Linked DNA regions of Homo sapiens: regions 2 and 3 are each linked to region 1. The links are contacts of gene promoters, found by promoter capture Hi-C in blood cells and fetal thymus (Javierre and others, 2016). All regions are on one chromosome and are shown on one strand. The core of a region is centred on a gene start or on the middle of the fragment in contact, and the rest is flanking DNA. Distances in the headings are between cores, read along the strand shown.

Region 1 (3,383 bases), core at 568-3,067:
CATCATCTCTTCCCAGGGTCTTTTTCGTCTCAAGAAGCGCCCCCAAAACGCCACCCTTGGCTTTGACAATAAGCTCCATCACACCTTCAGTAAATCAGAGCCCGTCTGAATGAAGGATACCCAAAGCCAAGAAATGCAAGAAACAACCGAGGAATCAGAAAGGCTACACCTGCCCTGTGAAGTGAGATGGTTTCCAGGGCGTGGAAAGGAGGGGCAGGGGAAGGGAGGAGGGCTCGACTGGGGACAGGAAAGGGAACCCACTAAGGCCTGGCGTGGGTAGCAGAAATGGCAGCTCTAGATACAATCCCTGGCTATGGGGAGGTGAGGTGCATAGCGGTGCTTGTCGGGAGGTGGGGGCTGCCAATAGTCCATGTCTGACCCGGCCGGGCTGGCGGGCGATAAAGTGCAGCTGTAGGGGGAGGTGGAATTGGAGGACACGGAGGAGGACGGCGCGGGGCTGTTGGTGCAACTCCACGTGGAGGCGGGCGAGGGGCTGTCTCCGCTGCTGCTCAGGGCGGCGCTGGCTCCTCCCGGGCTCAGCAACACTGCCTCGGAGAAGAGCGCCCCCGGCAGGCCCCCGCCGCCGCCCCCGCAGTGATCCGCCAGGCGCAGGGTCTCGGTGAGTGCCCAGATGTAGTTGTGGGCGAAGCGCAGGGTCTCGATCTTGGTGAGCTTGGCGTCCTCGGGGAACGTGGGGAGCACCTCGCGCAGCGCGTCCAGTGCCGCGTTGAGGTTGTGCATGCGGTTTCGCTCGCGGTTGTTGGCCTTCAGTCTACGGGTCTTCTTGATGCGCTGCACCGTCTCGGCCGTCTTGGCGCCTCGGGAGACGGCCCGCGCCCGGGAAGGGCGCCGTTTGCAATCGTGTACCAGACCCAGCAGCCGTGCGGGCCGGCAGCCCTCCGCACCCGCAGCCACGCCGCCCCGCGCCCCCTGCCCGGCCTCAGCCCCGCGCTGCCGACGCGCCCCGCCTGACGCGCCCGGCTCCTCCTCCTCTTCTTCGTCGGCGCTGGATGACAGCGGGGTCAGGGCCGCCAAGGCGGGGGAGGCCGATCCGAGCAGCACTAACACGTCCTCTTCCTCCTTCAACTCCAAGGTCTCGGATTTGACGAACATCCTACCGAAGAGAGAAAGGGGAAAAAGGCAGTGAGGTGTAAGGAAAGAAACAGAGGCGCGATCTTCGTGTCACAGGGGCGTGCTCCGGCGCGCACCCGAGAAGACCAGCTCCGAATGGCGCGGAGCAGGAAGGCGAAGGAAGAAACCCAGGCAGTGCTAACCAAGGTCAGGAGCGCCGCTAGCGCTCGCTGTGACCCTGCTGCCAGTCAGCCGGGTCCTGCCCTCCGCGGGCGGTCCTGCGTTCCCTCCCCGAGAAGGGACTGCGGCCTCCGCGACAAAGATTCTGCGCGGAGCAGAGGGCGTGCGGGTGTGGTTGGACTGAGTGCGGGGAAACCACCTGCGTAGTTGGAAGCGGTGGCTCGAATACTTACTTAGTTGGCTCTAACTGTGCCTCAGCGTTGCTGTGACTTTGGCCTGTGCCGGGAATCTCCGCGCAGCTGCGAGCGCAGCGCCGGGTCCTTCGCCCGGCGTGAAAGCTGCAAGCCCGGCGCTACTGTGGCGCAGCTCCGCGGGGGACCTCTGCGACCGGCGAGTTTGCCAAGAGCCCCGGCGGCGGCGGCGGCGGCCCGCCCGGGTCTCGTGTGTTGTGGTGGTGGTGCGTGTCTGTCTGTCAGTCAGTCCCTGGCCGTGCGGCTCCTGGCACGCGACTCCCAGGCACTCCAGTTAACGCGAAGCTGCTTGTGGTTCAGTGGCTGCGTGTCTGGCACACGACTCTCCTTAAAACCCCTTATATACCACCAAGAAAACAATCAGATCTGCCCCGGGCCCCCTCCTCCCCCGCCACCGCCTCCTCCTCCTGTCAGTCCTGCCCCCCTTCTCCCCCGCTTTTCCCTCCTCTGGCTTATTCTTTTCATTGCATTATCATCATTCATTTCTTCCTCTTTCTTCACCGCCTTTCCCCCTCCCTTGGCCCTGCCATCCATCCTCCTCCTCCCACCACCCCCGCCTCTCTTTTCCCCCTTTATCTAATCAACATAAAATGGTTCTAAAGCTCCTGTTGGAGCTCCGGGCTGCGGCCGGAGCTGGCGAAGCCGCAGCGGCCGCAGAGGCTCAAGCTGCGGCTGTTGTCGCCGCCGCTGTCCATTGTGATTGGTGGCTCGCGCTCGGCTGGAGCGTGCCGCTAATTTATTAATGAATGGAGGTCGCGAGGCGCAGCTGGCCAATCAGGGCGCCCTGGACTCCGGGAGGCCTGCGAGCCACGCGCACCGGAGCCCGCTCCCTTTCAGCAGCTCATTAGGGGCCCGAGCGCTGGGGGCGGATGGGGGGACCCGTGCTACCGCCCCCGCCTTCGTCCTCGCTGCCGCCGAGGCTCCCCCCGCCCGGCGCGCGCGCAGGCACCGCACCCGGCGCTGCCGGCCCTCCTAACTCCCGGGTGATGGGAACTAGGAATTAGTTAATGGGGGTCAGAATCCCGGGGAAAGCAGTTAGCCCTGTGGTGCTGCCGGGCGTCTCTTGGCAAAGCCTCTTAGGGGTTGTATCAAATAGTAAACGATTTTAAAATGGATTCATTTGGTTAGGGGAGGAGAATGGCGTGGATGGAGAGATGTGGACACCTCGTGAACAAGTGTGTTTGGGGTCCGTCGAAACTGGCGTGGGAGAGTGAAGGGAGAGGACACTGGGGATTCAAACAGGCGTCTCTTGGGAGGGGAGGTCGGATAGGGGAGCAGTTGATGAGCTTTTAGAGGATGTGAGAATGAAATCACTCACATGTTAGAGCTGAAAGGATCCCCCTCATTTTACATACAGGAAACTGAGGCTCCGGGCACTGATGCAGGTTTTGCTGGGGTTAACCCAGTTTATAGCCTGGAGGGACAGCAAGGAGGCTTCCTGCGTGGGTGGCAGCGAACCGAGCGGGAGGAGCGGCAGAGCTGCTGCTCCTGCAAGCAAATGCGCTGCGCTGACATTTCTGTGACCTCTGCTCCGCGCTGGGGGGCGTTGTAGGGACAAGGGGCCCATCTTCCCAATTCTGCTTTTCAATGAGAAAAAAGAGCTGAAGGGCTACTGGACCTCGGGGGAAACTTGTTCTCAATTGCTCGTTAGCCCTCCCCACTTTCCCCACGTTCATGCCCACCCTCTTGTCGACATGGGGATGGATCCGGACTTCAGTAGACCGGAGTGGCGTCCCTTGAGATCCCCTTTGCAAATTAACTTTAGGCAAGGCACAGTTGGAGTGTTAGGAGTGGAAGAGTAGAAGGGAAAGAGAATGCTGTCTTCTGGTTTCTGTCTCCCTCAGTTTGTAGGACTTAGAAACAAGCTGTATTCCAAAGACG
Region 2 (3,383 bases), core at 257-2,756, 170 kb before region 1:
GCTGGGGCCCAGAATACATGGGACCTGGAATACCTACATACGCTTCTCCTGATTCCTCCTGGTACAGAACAAGTAAATGTTAGTTCTTCTCTCCCCTTCCATCCCTTCAGCTCCCCAGTCCTGGTCTCCTGCCCTACACAGTCCAAGCAAGTGGGCCAAGAGATTGCAGCAAAGGAGAGGGGCCAGAGAGGAATCTTATCTTCTGTCCTGGCTTCTCCAGTTTTCCTCCTGCCTGCACATTAAACACACAGGGACTGACGTGCTGAGACCTGGTAAATTCAGACAGTGGGGTTCACGGTTCATCGTATCCTTTGAAGGACTCCTCCACCACTTCATTCAAGATATCTGATGTCATTTCTCTTGACTTCGTTTTAACTAGAAAACCTTGATTTTGATTATTTTTTAATTTTTGGTGAAATCAGTAAATGCCATTTTGAAGAAAGAAAGAAGTAGACTATGAAGGAGAGTGTTTTGGGGAAAGATCTCTGTGTCGTCTTAGAGTTCACCTGCTTTGTGACTAGTGAATGCACTACAGAAACTGGCAGACAGCAACACCCTCAGCCTGCCTCGGAAGAGACAAAAGTAAATACCCGTCTCAAAGAGAATGCACTGAAATATGATATCAGCTGCAAGAGAGGGCCATCTCCTCCGGTCAAATGAGAAAAATCATATTATCCTCGCTGTGGTATACAAATAGCTTGTAAGCCACATTCTCCATTTGAATGATAACAATAAAGTGCTAACCTCGCTGCTGCAGGCCAGCCTGATCCCATCTCCAAACACAAACACTTCTGCCTGGGTTTTGGCTGGGGGTTGTGCTGTGGCCTCCCAACCCCCACCCTTTCCCCCCCTTCTCCCCCCTACCCCCGTTAATTGGCTGAGACCACCAGAATTTGGAGGACACAGATGTCACTGATAGTTTTCCTAGGGAGCACATTCATGCCCATCTGTTGCAGCCTAGAAGGCTGTTCATATATCCACAAGGCCTTCATTTAATTCTTGTCAGAAAGTAATGTAAATCCAGTTTACCTCAGAGGTCGCAGGCGAGATTTATGCCAATGAGCCCCCTGCAATTTACACACACTGTAGTTGTATAGGATGAAAAGAAAGCCTTTCATGTTGGTGCATATTAACAAGAAAGCCTGCCTTCCGAGAGAGGCTTTTTGATTGAGGTTTCTCCTGATTTTAATACAGCCGATGCCAGTTGGTATACCCAGCTTTAGAAAAGCGGGGAAAAAATCTAATCTTTAAACTGAAGTTTCTTCTTTTATAAGAAGTAAAAGAGAAAGAGTGAAATCCTAGCAAGTGGCACTGCCATGTCTTTAATTATCTCTTACTAGACAAAACTCCCTCGCACTTGGAGAAGACAGTGTGACAGGAGAGCACGTTCCAGCCTGAACTGCTGCGAGTGGAAGTCTAGGGAGAGCTCAGTTGTAAGCAATGATCTTTCCAATGTGAAAATAGTGGGACTGAACAGTTGAATTAGACTTCTGACTTTTTGTCTGTCTCTTTCTAGTATAGTTAAAGTATGGAGTTTGATAATTTGGATCAGGCTAGGTAGAAATTGATTCATCAGTAAATTGGAAGAAGACATATGTGATATATACATAGAAAATAATTCATAGAATTATCTTATTGGAAGTCTAAGAGCATTAAAAAGGACTTGGGTTACATCTTTCAATGTATTGATACATTTTGAAATATTCAGGACTGTGTAAGTAGGCTGGAAGGCAAATGGTTTTAAAAGCATTCATGGGGTCAAAGACTCCTGGAAATTCTGAATACACACCTTGTTTAGTATGTGACCTTGGGAAAGTTACTTAACCTCCATGACCCTCAACTTTCTCATCTCTAAAGTGGGGATCATAAAGCCAATATCACAAAGTTTTGTGTCTGAGGTGCACAGCATAGCACCTAAAGTACAGAAAGTATTTAACCAATAGCAATTTTCCCTCTCCACCTTGTCTTTTGGTGGTACCTGTGACAGCAAATTACAGATTTAAAATGTTAGTTAATTTGGTTCAAAACCTCTAAGCATTCAACTCACCAGACTACTTTTTCGTATTTAAAAAATGTTTAAAGATCAATGAAGTTGGAGATTTTCTTTCCCACTGTTTAGAATTTTTGTTGTCAGCTGTTTAATTTTTTAATTCTGTAGAAAGTAGAATAATAGAAGTGTGTTGGTTTCGGTAAAAGTAGGCATGGCTGCCATGCTCATTCAGAGTTGTAGCCTCTGATTTCCCAAGACAGTGTTAATAGGGGGCGTGCTTCTCGTGTTTTTATAGACAGTGCTCATTTACCCATACTAATGGCTTTGAAGTATATGGTATGATTATTTTTGCACCACATTTAACTTTTTGTTTGTATTTTGCTTAAGATAATATTAAAGTTCAGCTGTGATTTCTAAGTACATACTAACAGGACAATGAGGCACAGTAACCTAGAAGCATTACATGATGTGGATGTGGGTGGAATGGGGCCCTGATTAAAAATACAATGTGTTGTTGGCAACACAGTAAGCAGATACTCCAAATATGCATAATCTGGACTTAATTACAGAATTGGATAAAGCAGTAGCTTCATTTTGCAGAGTAGTGGTCATATTAGGGAGGCCGAAGCCCAATTTTGTTGGTTATCTAAACCAGGGAAGAGGAGATTTCAAATAATTTCAGAACGGTCTCTTGCTGCCTCTCAAAATTCATCAAGACCATTCCTTTTTGTTGGGGTCCTCAAAAGAGAATTTTTAAATTTTTTATTATTAAAAATTTCGAATATGTTGTTACAAAAGTAGAGGGAGCAATGTAAAAACTTCATGTACTCTTATGTAGCTTCAACATTTAATAGTCCATAGCCAACCTTGACTAATTTACATCTTTAATTTCTCCCCAGCTCCATGCCTCAAATTCTTTTGAAACAAATCTCAGACTCCATATAATTTCATTTCTAAGTATTTCAGAATGTATCCCTAAACGATATGAACTCTTGGAGTTTCACTCTTGTTGCCCAGGCTGGAGTGCAATGGTGCAATCTCGGCTCACTGCAACCTTTGTCTCCCGGGTTCAAGCAATTCTCCTGTCTCAGCCTCCTGAGTACCTGGGATTACAGGCGTGCGCTGCCATGCCAGGCTAATTTTGTATTTTTAGTAGAGATGGGGTTTCTCCATGTTGATCAGGCTGGTCTCGAACTCCCAACCTCAGGTGATCTGCCCACCTGGGCTTCCCAAAGTGCTGGGATTACAGGTGTGAGCCACCACGTCCAGCTGATATGAACTCTTTTTAAATATAACCACACTACTTTTATCCCACCTTAAAAATTAACACTAATTCTTTAATATCATTTATTATATCATATATTATCAGTCAGAAATCATGGGACTTTGAGTT
Region 3 (3,383 bases), core at 313-2,812, 150 kb before region 1:
TGCCTTATGTATTTTGTGACATTTGATCAGGAGCTCATGCGTCTTAGTATTTTATGGGTGGGAATTCTTTGAAGCTTGGATTGAGGTTAATTTTTTAAAGAAAGGATTATATTTAGTCACACCAGTTGACTGGGAACACTACTAACCTAATCATTTTGAATAATTTATTTTAAATTAATCATTAGCTAGAGGTGTTATGGACTTTGTGGCTTCAAATTCTCAAGGGAAAAATTTTTGTTCCCCTCCATCAAGCAGCATGTTTTGCCACAGACAATTTTCCTGGGAGGTGAGGGGAGAGGATGAGGATTTATTTTTTAGCTCACTCTTATACTGAAGGTGCGACCTTTTAGGATCTCAGTTTTATGCATGGGGTGTGCAGTCTCCACTTAAATTCCTACCTCAGTTAAGGCCTTTGGTTTCATTTTCTCCCCTCTCACCTTACAAGACAGTGAAACCAGTTTTAAGTTCACAGTTTGGCAAATACAATCAAGGCAACGGCTAGCTTCTATATTGCAGGTAACTTTTTAGGTTTCAGCCTTTACTTCTTTTTTTGTTTTCTGAGTACTGCTTCCTCTCTTGACATTTTATTGACATATTTTAGAGATTTAAAATGTTTTTGCAGCATTTTTTATTGTTTTCAGTGGGAGTGTTAGATAGTCTTCCTCAATGCTAGAAATAGAAGTCTACTTTTTTATGTTTTTGGTGACTTAGAAGTTGCCTTCTCCCTTTTAATGCAGTTTTAAAATGCTGACAAATGCCTGTTACCCAATAATATCTTTCTGAGCCCCACACTTGCCTTACTCTCCAGTCAGCTGCCTCTTTCTCCATTTGTTTCCCCACTTCTACTGCCAATCAGTGCAAGAGGCAATATGGTGATAGTTTATGTCTATGGGTGCTCAGAGAAGAGTGAAATGGTGGGAACAGCTGGATTGTCATTGCTTGGTGCCTGATTAGAGAAATGTATTCTTGTTGTACATTAGAGACCAGAATACCTTTTCCTATAGAAACAATATGAGAAATGAGTGTAGATTAAAAAGACGTTTTAGATTAGCTGGGCATGGTGGTGCATGCCTGTAATCCCAGCTACTCAGAGGCTGAGGCACAAGAATCGCTTGAACCCAGGAGGCAGAGGGTTGCAGTGAGCCGAGATTGCACCACTCCACTCCAGCCTGGGTGACAGAGTGATACTCGGTCTCAAAAAGAAAAAGAAAAGAAAATTTGTTTTATAATAATTATTCATGTACATATGAATTAAATAGGCTCTGTGGGCTTGCTTATGAATCTAACCAAGGGTTAATTGAATTCCAACATAGATAATTTAAATTGAGCTTGCAGAGTACAATTGTGTATTATATGCCCTGTATATTTATCTAGTTTACCTTTTAGTATATTTGCATCTTATCCTTCTAATTATATTGTAAATTCCTTGACAGTAAAGATCATCGCTCATATTTCTTTACCTTTCTCCACATCTTCTAGCTTGGGGATTCTGACTAGTTGGCTAGTGGGTTATAATAGCAGTGGCAACCAGTAGACAATGGAATATCTCTGGAGTCATTTTATTTTCCTTGACATATTCCCTAATAGGGGTACTAATTGTCCAGTGAAAAAGACTCAAACACAGATGCTAAAAGAAATGGAGCTTTGAATAATCCACTGGTTTGGTTACTTTTTATAATAGCTGATTTGTCAATTATCCCATAACTAAGCCACTCAACTAAATTCTAAGTTACCAATAGAACTGAAGAATTTGTATATCAAAATCACATACAGCATGTATAAACACATGACCCCTTAGCTGTGAGTGTGCACATGTGCCTTAAAGTGTATCACTCTAACTTTTTTGGGTATTTATTCCAGAATTATCTGTTTTTATGGTCTGATTGCTTTTCCTGGACCCTTTCTATTTGATTTTTAAGGAAAAAAAAAATACAGGGGAGGGATGTTAAAAGAGAAAAAGTAATTCATTGATTACCAAACATACTGGGGAATTCCCATTGTTTAAATGTAAAAACAATATACAGCTCACAGAATGCCACAGTTCAGGGGAGGAAAAACTGATATGTGTTGAGATTGAAAATGATTCCTTTATAAATGAAGTTGACCAAAATTTCCAGCAGGACTGTTGCCTGAAGGAAAGTTCCTGGGCTCCAGCCTCTGTTATGCCTAACAATGAGCCATACAAGTCTGGACAGATGGTTGGATTCCAAAGCGTTTCTCATGTTACAGTATTTTCTTCCTATTGTCTCCTCTGAATTCTACAGAGAAAAGGGAAAATGCTGTGACTTTCAAAAAGTATGAAGAATGTCTTCAGTACATTTCTGGGGAATTGCAAGTACTAAACATGAATTACCTTGGAAATCTCTTCTTCTTTTTAGAAATGTTGTCTTGGCTAAAATATGGTTTCTTATTGTGGATGATATGATTTATCTAACTTACTTTTATATGTAGAAATACAGAATAGATGCATTTATGTCTTTTCCTGGAAGATCTCTTCTACGCTTCTTGTCTCAAAACATGGTAACATTGTCCACTCAGTTTTGAGCTATGGTGAAGGAGAAACTGATACTCATTCTTAATAACATTCATATCTATCCAATACCAATATTGCATTTATTCCCCAGACAGCTCTCAATTCTGTCCAGTTTTCTACATCTCTAATACTATCGCTCTGGTCGAAAGTCCTGATACTTTCCACGTGAATTTTTGCAATTATACCTAACTGATCTTCCTGCAGTTACCTCCCGGCAAACCCCCACCCTAACGTACGCACTACAGCTAAAACAGAGTGATTTTTTCCAAATGCACATCTGACCCTGGTCCTCCTGCTACCAGTAGTTTCCTAGCACTCTTAAGGTGAAGATACAATTTTTTACCAGGCACACATAGGCCTGCACAGCCCGTATTTACCTCTCCAGTCCCACCTCATATCAACTTTCTCCTTTTATCGCTAGTTCAGCCAACCTCTCTGTCTTTCATTCCCTCTCTAGTTCCTTCTACATAACAGCCATTCCCCACCATTTTAACTTCATTAAGCCTTATCACTCTTTCAAAGCTTAATTCAGGCATCACATTCTCAAAGAAGCCTCCCTTGATCTGCCCTAGCTTTACTCAAGTGATTAGGTCAAGTCCTGTTGTTTGCCTTCATACAACTGCATGCCCTATCTCTCTTTCACATCACTTAGACAAAAGGAAGAGATTTATGATCTTGTGCATCAGGAATTGGTGTTGCAAGTGAGGAAACCAAAGCAAATAAGTATATTTAGTAATCGACTTCTAAAATTCAAGCCAATATTTCTAACCACACAAAAATATACATACATAAAAACGATATGTAAGGGTTCTCAAAAGAGCTAGGGAATTTCTTAATAAACAAATATCAA

What was found. Contacts are between HindIII fragments. The CHiCAGO score rates a contact against its expected background, and 5 or more counts as called.
Region 2: a fragment that was not itself captured here is called in contact with the fragment with the promoter of NEUROG2 in region 1 in 11 of 17 cell types (fetal thymus, megakaryocytes, activated CD4 T cells and 8 more); the score reaches 7.1 in fetal thymus.
Region 3: a fragment that was not itself captured here is called in contact with the fragment with the promoter of NEUROG2 in region 1 in 1 of 17 cell types (activated CD4 T cells); the score reaches 5.7 in activated CD4 T cells.

Annotation. Positions count from the first base shown.
Region 1 is chr4:112,514,363-112,517,745 of GRCh38, forward strand. NEUROG2 (neurogenin 2) reads right to left here and starts at 1,818. Exons shown (of 2, transcript NM_024019.4): 1 at 1,485-1,818; 2 at 1-1,114. The coding sequence starts at 1,113. The coding sequence ends at 295. NEUROG2-AS1 (NEUROG2 and ZGRF1 antisense RNA 1) reads left to right here and starts at 1,017. Exons shown (of 4, transcript NR_161159.1): 1 at 1,017-1,278. LOC124900760 (a long non-coding RNA gene) reads left to right here and starts at 2,443. Exons shown (of 2, transcript XR_007058231.1): 1 at 2,443-2,677. RefSeq lists silencers at 450-649, 910-979, 2,300-2,579 and enhancers at 2,589-3,383, 2,720-2,819, 2,920-3,039. The HindIII fragment of the contact is 11,776 bases long and covers 1-3,383 here.
Region 2 is chr4:112,342,902-112,346,284 of GRCh38, forward strand. All of the region lies in intron 2 of ALPK1 (alpha kinase 1), which reads left to right. Among named protein-coding and RNA genes, the nearest start is that of ALPK1, 47 kb to the left of the region's middle. The HindIII fragment of the contact is 4,801 bases long and covers 1-3,383 here.
Region 3 is chr4:112,368,487-112,371,869 of GRCh38, forward strand. The region is part of intron 2 of ALPK1 (alpha kinase 1); the gene reads left to right. Among named protein-coding and RNA genes, the nearest start is that of ALPK1, 73 kb to the left of the region's middle. The HindIII fragment of the contact is 2,981 bases long and covers 73-3,053 here.